2 separate regions of the Homo sapiens genome follow, and region 2 is linked to region 1. Evidence: promoter capture Hi-C in 16 types of primary human blood cells and fetal thymus (Javierre and others, 2016). All regions are on one chromosome and are shown on one strand. The core of a region is centred on a gene start or on the middle of the fragment in contact, and the rest is flanking DNA. Distances in the headings are between cores, read along the strand shown. Region 1 holds the start of S100A16 (S100 calcium binding protein A16). Region 2 overlaps NUP210L (nucleoporin 210 like).

What was found. The method cuts DNA at HindIII sites, captures the fragments that hold promoters and counts their contacts. A CHiCAGO score of 5 or more calls a contact.
Region 2: a contact is called between a fragment that was not itself captured here and the fragment with the promoter of S100A16 in region 1, in 4 of 17 cell types (total B cells, fetal thymus, naive B cells and 1 more). The highest score is 6.1, in total B cells.

The regions. Positions count from the first base shown.
Region 1 is chr1:153,610,483-153,614,431 of GRCh38, forward strand. It overlaps S100A16 (S100 calcium binding protein A16), which reads right to left and starts at 2,655. Exons shown (of 3, transcript NM_080388.3): 1 at 2,470-2,655. S100A14 (S100 calcium binding protein A14) reads right to left here. Exons shown (of 4, transcript NM_020672.3): 4 at 3,773-3,949. The HindIII fragment of the contact is 6,157 bases long and covers 2,178-3,949 here.
Region 2 is chr1:154,021,401-154,025,629 of GRCh38, forward strand. NUP210L (nucleoporin 210 like) reads right to left here. Exons shown (of 40, transcript NM_207308.3): 30 at 4,142-4,229; 31 at 1,722-1,897; 32 at 726-943. Among named protein-coding and RNA genes, the nearest start is that of RPS27, 33 kb to the left of the region's middle. The HindIII fragment of the contact is 2,345 bases long and covers 779-3,123 here.

The DNA of each region.
Region 1 (3,949 bases), core at 1,405-3,904:
GACTCAACCCCTGCTTGGCCTCTGGCAGCAGCCAAGTGGCCAAGACACAGATGAGCCCCAGAGATGACTCTGCCACCTGCTCCCAGGAGTACTGGGAGACCCAGAGCGGGAGCTCCAGTGCCTCAGGGCTTCAGCTCCCAGCCCCTCCTCCCAGGAATCCACCCGCTCCCCACCTTCGGTAAAATGGACAGTGCTGGAGATAACCATCTGACAAGTGCTTTTCTGGAGCTTTTTCTGAAGGAAGGATAGGGTAGCAGGCAGGCAGGGATCGTTATCCTCCTCTGCCTCCCTCCCCTGGAGGCCAGGAGACAGGATCTGCCACCCCACCCACCCCACAAGCCACCTGCTCCTCCCGCCTGCCCCATTCCCCCACCAGCCAGGCCCCGGGTCTCCTGGTTCAGGGGTCGGGCAGATGTTCTATCCCATCAGCCGCTTCCTAGAAAGGTCAAGCAGGAGGTCGTTCCTGCATTGGCCCTGCCACAGGTAGATCCTGGCCTGAGTGGACAGTGTACACAGGAGCCTTCCAGAAATGTGGGAATGGGAGGACCACGTGTCCTCCAATGGGCCCTCTCACCTCAGGCCTCCAGCCCTACCCCAATGTTCTCATTGTCTTCCCCTTGGCTGATTCATCATTGAGCAACAAGCAGTCTCCCACCCCCACCCCACCCACCTCAGCCCAGCTTGCTGACTTCTCCAAAAGCCCAAATTGCCCTGACTCCATGCCCCTGGATCCCAGCCACTCCAGCCCCACCCTCCCACCCCCAGGTTCTGGGCTCCACGCCCTCCAAATGCCTCCTAACCACCCCTAGCATCCCCAGGCTCCTTCCGTCTGGAGCTCCAAACATCCACCACACCGTCCTAAGTCCACCTTCTCTTCTCACCCCACAGACACCTCTGGAGTCTTAAGTTTTTTCCAAGTGTTGGGATGTGTCCCTAGACTCCTGTCCCTCCTGGTCACTGTTCTCTCCAGAGCCTAGCCCACTGTCAAGCCTAAGTATGGATTCTCTGTGTCCCTTCCATCTACCTGGAATTCATTTGCTCACTTAGGCACCATGAGTTTGCTTACTCATTCATTTATTGGCTCATTCATTCACTCTCATTCATTCACTTGCTCATTCAATAATGCATTCACTCTCTTGCACATTCATTCATTCATTCCCTTTTTCATTTACTCATTTGTCCTCTCTAACTTCAATATATAGGGAAGGTGCCATCCGAACTGGGCTGACAATGCCACCTCTATCAGCAAGGCTGTTTCAAATGAAATTTCTCCAGCCTCAGCTGTTCCATTCTCTGCTCCTTCCTGTGTTCTTTCTCCAATTCCACAAGGCCCTCTCCAGGAACAGCTCCCGGAGCATAGTGGGGCCTGCTTGGCCCTGCCTCACCCCTTACCATCCTCACAGGATTCTGCGTCTAACTCTCTTTGTCTCTCTCTCACACACACACACACACACACACACACACACACACCGAGCAAGGACCTCGGCCATTCCTGATCCCCTCTGCTTGGGTGACCCATCACCCTTCCACTCACTTCAGTTCTTGGAGCAAGAAGCCAGCCTCTGAAATTTTTCCAGGCAAGTGAAGTTGGAGGAGTTCAGTGTGGATCTTGCCCCCGCCTCCCCCAACACACACACAGCTACCCCAGCCTCAACAACACTTACTAGAATGTGGGGAAAGGCAGAGCCAGCTCCCCAGCACCCCTGCCCTCACCACCATCCCCACTGGGCTGGGCAGGGGAAGGCTCCCATAGTGCAGGTGGCTCTGCCAAGAAAAGCAGCTCAAGCCGGGGCCTGCCTGGGTCCTGAGGTGGAGGAGCTGCCGAGGTTCAGCCCCCCTCTCTCTATCTTTCCCTCTCCCAGGGAGCTTGCAGGCTCCCCACAGCCTCACTCGGGTTCCTCCCAGATCTCATCATCCCTCTCAAGGAACAGCTCCTGGAACACAGTGGGGTCTGCTTGGGTCGTGAGGTAGAGGGGACGCCACCTCAGCCCCCGCCTCCTCTTCTCGGAATCTCAGGCTCCCTGGAAACTGCCTGGTTCCTTCTGGACCCCATCACCTCCCCTAGGACACAGCTCCCAGAGCCCAGCAAGGCCTGTGTCCAAGCTCTGACCACCCCCAACCCAGACCAACACGCATTTGTCCTCTCCTTTTGGGGAGGATCGAGTAGCTGTGGTCAAAGCTTCCAAATACTCTGCCCCTGGAGAGGAGCTCCGTCAGCTGCTGCGGCAGGGAGGGGGTCTCACCATCCCATCCATCCCTCTAAAGGCCTCACCCAGCCCCCAACCCCCCAGGACTCCCCATTCCTAAACTGGCCTGTGGGAGAAAGTTAATAATTACCAAAATCTTCCTGCCTGCTCTCTGGCAGGCCCCTCTCCCCAGGCCCCCTTCACTGCCCCTTCTCCTGGCCTCCCAATACTGTGGGGCCCTCCGGCAGCCGAAGACCTCCCAGGCCGGGCCCAGGGTGCTCACCTGCTGCCTCAGTCTGCCTCCTCTCCAGCAGGGCTCTGGGGCCTGGGCTCTGGCACTGCCAAGCAGCTCCCTGCGCTCAGCCCAGCCGGGACTCCTCCCCGCTGCACTCCCAGAATCTGTCCCACTCCCTCCCAGCCCTGCCCGCTGAGCTGGCTCGGTGGGGAGATAGTGGCTGAGCTCCTTCTTGACTTGGCCCTGGGGTTGGGCCCTTGTTAAAGGGATACACACCTTTTTTCACACCCCTCTACCCCCATCCCAGAGGGAGTGGTGAAAACTGGCACTCCCCCAACCCCACCCTCCCAGCCCCGCAGGGGCTGAGCAGAACCTGACAGGGTAGAGAAAGGAAGGGAAGGACTATCACCTGCCTTTCTCACCTGGGTCACTGGGATCCCAGTTTCAGGGGCTCCCAACAGACAAGTTCAGTTAACATTCCAGGCCAGCCTAACTGGCCACAGAAACCTCCTTGCCACTGGGGTTTCAGGAGTAACGCCCGACTTCTGTGCTCAAATCAGAAGGCAGATGCCAGGGACCTGTCTGGCTCCCTGGTCTTCTGTCTCTAGTCTGACCCATCAGCTCTACTGAGACCCAGCCCTAAGATCCCTCATGTACACCAGAAGACTCCTCTGGAAACTCCCCACACCCCACCGTTTCCCTAAGATACCCAAGGAAACTGGCCAGCTCGACCTCCCTACACTAGGGCAGCAGCTGAAACCAAAGAGGGGCCCACTTGCCCACTCCAGCGGGAATGATATTGGGTCACTGGGCACTCACCATGTGTCAGGCTCTCTGTAAGTGCTTTACATGATGTGTGGCATTGTCCTCCTGGCAATCCTGTGGAAGTAATATTCATATCCCCCATTTTACAGATGAGGAAACTGATACTAAGAGCATGCCCAAAATTCCAATGATAAGTGGCAGATCTGAGATTCAAACTCAGGCCAGTCAGCCTGTTTCTAACCGCCCCCCACCCCCACCCACCCCATTTCCCTGGTTGTGCCAGCCAGGGCTCAGAACACCTGGACTAATATCCTTTTCCCCAAGTGTGCACACATACCCTCCTCTCCTATAAGAGGGCCCGCCCATTGGCAAAGAGGAGCCTGTCCCTCAGAGAGGACCATGTTGCCCTTTTGGACCTGGTACCACCCTCAACCCAAACCCATAGGGAAAAGTGAGTCCCCATTCACTTCCACAGCCAACCACTCCAGCCCCACGTGCCCCACCCTACCAATGACTTTGCCTTTCACCCCCAAGCTCCTCTCACCCGTGGACCCTCAGGGAGGGGGTGTCCAGTCAAGACAACATGTTTCACTTTTTTCATTTTTTTTTATTAATCAAATGATACAAAACAACCATCATTCTGTCAATGCCCAAGCACCCAGCTGGTCCTCTCCCCACATGTCACACTCTCCTCAGCCTCTCCCCCAACCCTGCTCTCCCTCCTCCCCTGCCCTAGCCCAGGGACAGAGTCTAGGAGGAGCCT
Region 2 (4,229 bases), core at 701-3,200, 410 kb after region 1:
CGCTTGAACCCAGGAGTCAGAGGTTGCAGTGAGCAGAGATCATGTCACTGCCCACTGCCCTCCAGCCTGAATGACAGAGTGAGACTCTGTCTCTAAAAAAAAAAACAAAACAAAGTATAGTTTATCCGGGTAAAAGAAAAAACCTTATTACAATGATGATATGTTAGGACTTAGGCCTTCAAATGTGCCTCACAAAATAGCATACACATAACTAGTTCTTAGAACTAAAGCCTTATTGCCCTTTCCTTCCTGTTATCCTTTACTGTCCTTCAATATAGTAATTACCCTCCTTCAAAAGCTGGGAATGGAGGAGAAGACACAGTACCCTGCACTATCTACATAATATAAAATAGAGCTATGTATCCAATAGACTCTTGATCAATATTACTGGCTGGCTTCTAATTGGCTGGCTATTGAGTGAAACAGGCATTAAGCTAAAAATTATCAGTAACATTACAAATAATAAAATACTCAAAATTATTTTCTTTCTCAGAGAGTCCCTCAGATTTTAGATAATTTGGAAAAAAATATTCTAGGGGATTAATTGCTTTCTTGAACTTCTGGCCTTAAGTGACCTCTCCAGCTTGGCCTCCCAAAGGGCTGAGATTATGGGTATAAACCACTATACCAGTCCAAGGGATTAATAACTGCTTTTTTTTTTAATAACTGCTTTTTAATCCCCACAACTATCAATTGTAAGTTTGAGAAAGGGAATGTATACATACCATGCTGGCTGACAAGGTGAGTACTGAAGCAGATGATATCTCCAACAAAGGTAAGCTTGGTGTCTGGCTCAATGGCATGCTCTACAGCAACAGGAATATAATCTGCCATGCCTGGATGTCTCCGGTCCCAAAGCCCCACAAGTGTCAGCCCTCTGTTCACAGCCTGGGCCATGTAAGTATAGTTCTTATTCCCTGGTCCAATATGCAGCAAGTCATCTCTGCAAGTAGACATTAAAGGTAGAAATCTTTAAAAAGAGACAATAGTTAGAAAATAGTTCTGGAGAACACCCTACCACATTTTATATTCAACAGCTCAGAAGTTCAGAAGGAATTCCACAATAAAGAGTAAGTAAGTATGGGCCAAGGATCAGTCTATTACCTTCATACGTATAGTTCCCAGGAAGGCTTTTTTTTTTTTCCAGTAAAGCCTTTTGATAATAATACTCCAGTTAGCTCCCTATGGATCTTTTAGTGAATTAGAACTTGACAGATTTAAGATATCCTGCATTTTTTCTTAAGTGACAACTAATACCATTGCCTAAGTCTGGTCTTTTTTTTTTTTTTTTTTTTTTAAGACAGTCTTAATTGGTCACCCAGGCTGGGGTGCAGTGGCGCAATCTCTGCTCACTGCAACCTCTGCCTCCTGGGCTCAAGTGATCCTCCCACCTCAGCCTCCCTAGTAGCTGGGACTACAGGCACACGCTACCACACCCAGCTAATTTTTGTATTTTTGTAGAGATGGGGTTTCACCATGTTGTCCAGGCTGGTCTCGAACTCCTGGGCCCAAGTGATCCTCCCTCCTCAGCCTCCCAAAGTGCTGAGGTTACAGGTGTGAGCCACCCACCTGGCCTCACTTAAAAAAATTTTTTTTAACAAAAGAAAGATCAACTTCCAAATTCAGAATGTGAGAGGAATTTACTGGAGCTGCTATATAATACTAGCCTAATATGCAAGATTTCTACCATAGTGTCAATACCATTCCTTTGACTTCCATACCTGTTCAGAGCCAGATAAAGCTGGGTATTGTGTGTGTGGAATTTCTCTCCGATACTATTATAAAACTGAACAGTGAAGGTAAGAGACATGCCCAAGGGAAATGCTGACAGGGTCCTTCCTTGGGCTGTGTATAGCTTGGGTTGGCTGCTCACTCGCAGGTATGTCACCGGTGCTACCTGTGGGAGACAAAACCTACTGGTACAGAGAAAGATGCACTGGAGAAGTGCTGCAACCATATTCTGAGACTTATAATCAATGATAAAGAGTGATGTTTCTTTTCCATAGGAAATAGCTTTTGATGTGAGATGACTTAAGTCAGAGTGAAAAGAAATATGACAGCATAGCAGCATAGGAAATTCTTTTCTTTTTTTTTTGAGACAGAATCTCACTCTGTCACCCAGGCTGGAGTGCAGCGGCATGATTTTGACTCACTGCAACCTCTGCCTCCTGCATTCAAGCAATTCTCCTACCTCAGCCTCCCAGGTAGCTGTGATTACAGGCATCTGCCACCACGCCTGGTTAATTTTTCTATTCTTAGTAGAGATGGGGTTTCACCATGTTGGCCAGGCTGGTCTCAAACTCCTGACCTCAAGTGATCTGCCCGCCTTGGCCTCCCAAAGTGTTGGAATTATAGGCGTGAGCCACTGTGCCCGGCTTGAAATGGGTTTTTAATTTTTTTTTTTTTGAGACGGAATTTTGCTGTCTCGCCCAGGCTGGAGTGCAGTGGTGCAATCTCAACTTACTGCAACCTCCGCCTCCTGGGTTCAAGCAATTCTCTGCCTCAGCCTCCTGAGTAGCTGAGATTACAGGCGCCCGCCACAATGCCCGGCTAATTTTTTTGTATTTTTAGTAGAGATGGGGGTTTCACCATCTTGGCCAGGTTGGTCTTGAACTCCTGACCTCGTGATCCACCCGGCTCGGCCTCCCAAAGTGCTGGGATTGGCGTGAGCCACTGTGCCCAGCCAGGTTTTTAATTTTTAAAGCTGTGGGAATGTGAAGAGAAGCTGGAGCTTTATGAGGAAAGGACTATAATTCATCCATTTCATGCAGAGTGCTCAATATTTATGGTTAAATAATCAATTACTTATCAGGAACACAATCTATATTGTGTTTTCACACTGTAAGAGAGCTGTGATACAGTAAGTGAAGCCCGCGTTTGAATCATAGCTTTATCATTTCATAGCCTCATGTAACTTTTCTGGGTCTCAGGTTTCTTATCAGTTAACAGTTAGATGGGGATAATAATGCCTACCTCATAGGGCTTTTGTGGTAGTTAAAAGAGATAATATACATACAATGACGAACATAGTATATAGTAGATGTTTAATGTCTAAAATTTTTTTTCGTGTTAAGACTAACTTATCTCTGAGGTCTTTTCTCAATTTTTTAATTCTTGTAGCAAAGCTTAATTTTTTAAAAAGAAACAGATTGTTGCTTTGTTTTCCAGGCTGCAGTGCAGCAGTTCAATTGCAGCACAAAGCAGCCTCGAACTCCTAGGTTCGTGTGATCCTCCACCTCAGCCTCCCAAGCAGCTAGGACTGCAGACATGTGCCACCAAGCCCGGCTATTTTTTTTTTTTTTTCATTTTTTGTAGAGATAGGGGTCTCATTATGTTGCTCAGGCTGGTCTTAAACTCTTGGCCTCAAGTGATTCTCCTGCCTCAGCCTTCCAAAGTGCTGGGCTTACAGGCGTGAGTCACCCAGCCCAGCCAATTTTGATAGCAATCATTCTACACTCCTCCGATACCAGTCCTTTTGCCAAAGCTGCTAGGAAGACAATCATATAAATTTAGGCTGATCTGTTTTTTTTTTTTTTTTTTTTTTTTTGAGATGGAGTCTTGCTGTCGCCCAGGTTGGAGTGCAGTGGCGTGATCTTGGCTCACTGCAGGCTCCGCCCCCCGGGGTTCACGGCATTCTCCTGCCTCAGCCTCCTGAGTAGCTGGGACTACAGGCGCCCGCCACCTCGCCCAGCTAATTTTTTGTATTTTTAGTAGAGAAGGGGTTTCACCGTGTTAGCCAGGATGGTCTCGATCTCCTGACCTCGTGATCCGCCTGCCTCAGCCTCCCAAAGTGCTGGGATTACAGGCGTGAGCCACCGTGCCCGGCCAGGCTGATCTGTTTTATAACAAGGGCTCTAAAGTTCATTTTAATTTTATGGCTTATAACCATGTCAAGACTGGCCTCTTATAGGTTCATTTCTGACTCCCAGAGAGTTTCTTCTTCTTCTTCTTCTCCTTTTTTTTTTTTTTTTTCTGGTTCATGTTCTCTCATGATACAGAAGTTTCTAATTCTTTTCTTTTTCTTTTTTTCTTTAATGGCATGATAAGAAAATTTCTAGTTTTTTAAAAAAGAAACTCTGCTTTTTAAGGCCAGGGTATGACTTTTATTTATTTGTTTTTTTTAGTAAGTCCATGAACTCACCTGGACCCCAGTTATGGTTGTTTGGTTGACTCCAAAAGGTTCTATAGAAGTGACTTCCAATACAGCAGTACCTGCAATGGAACCAGCT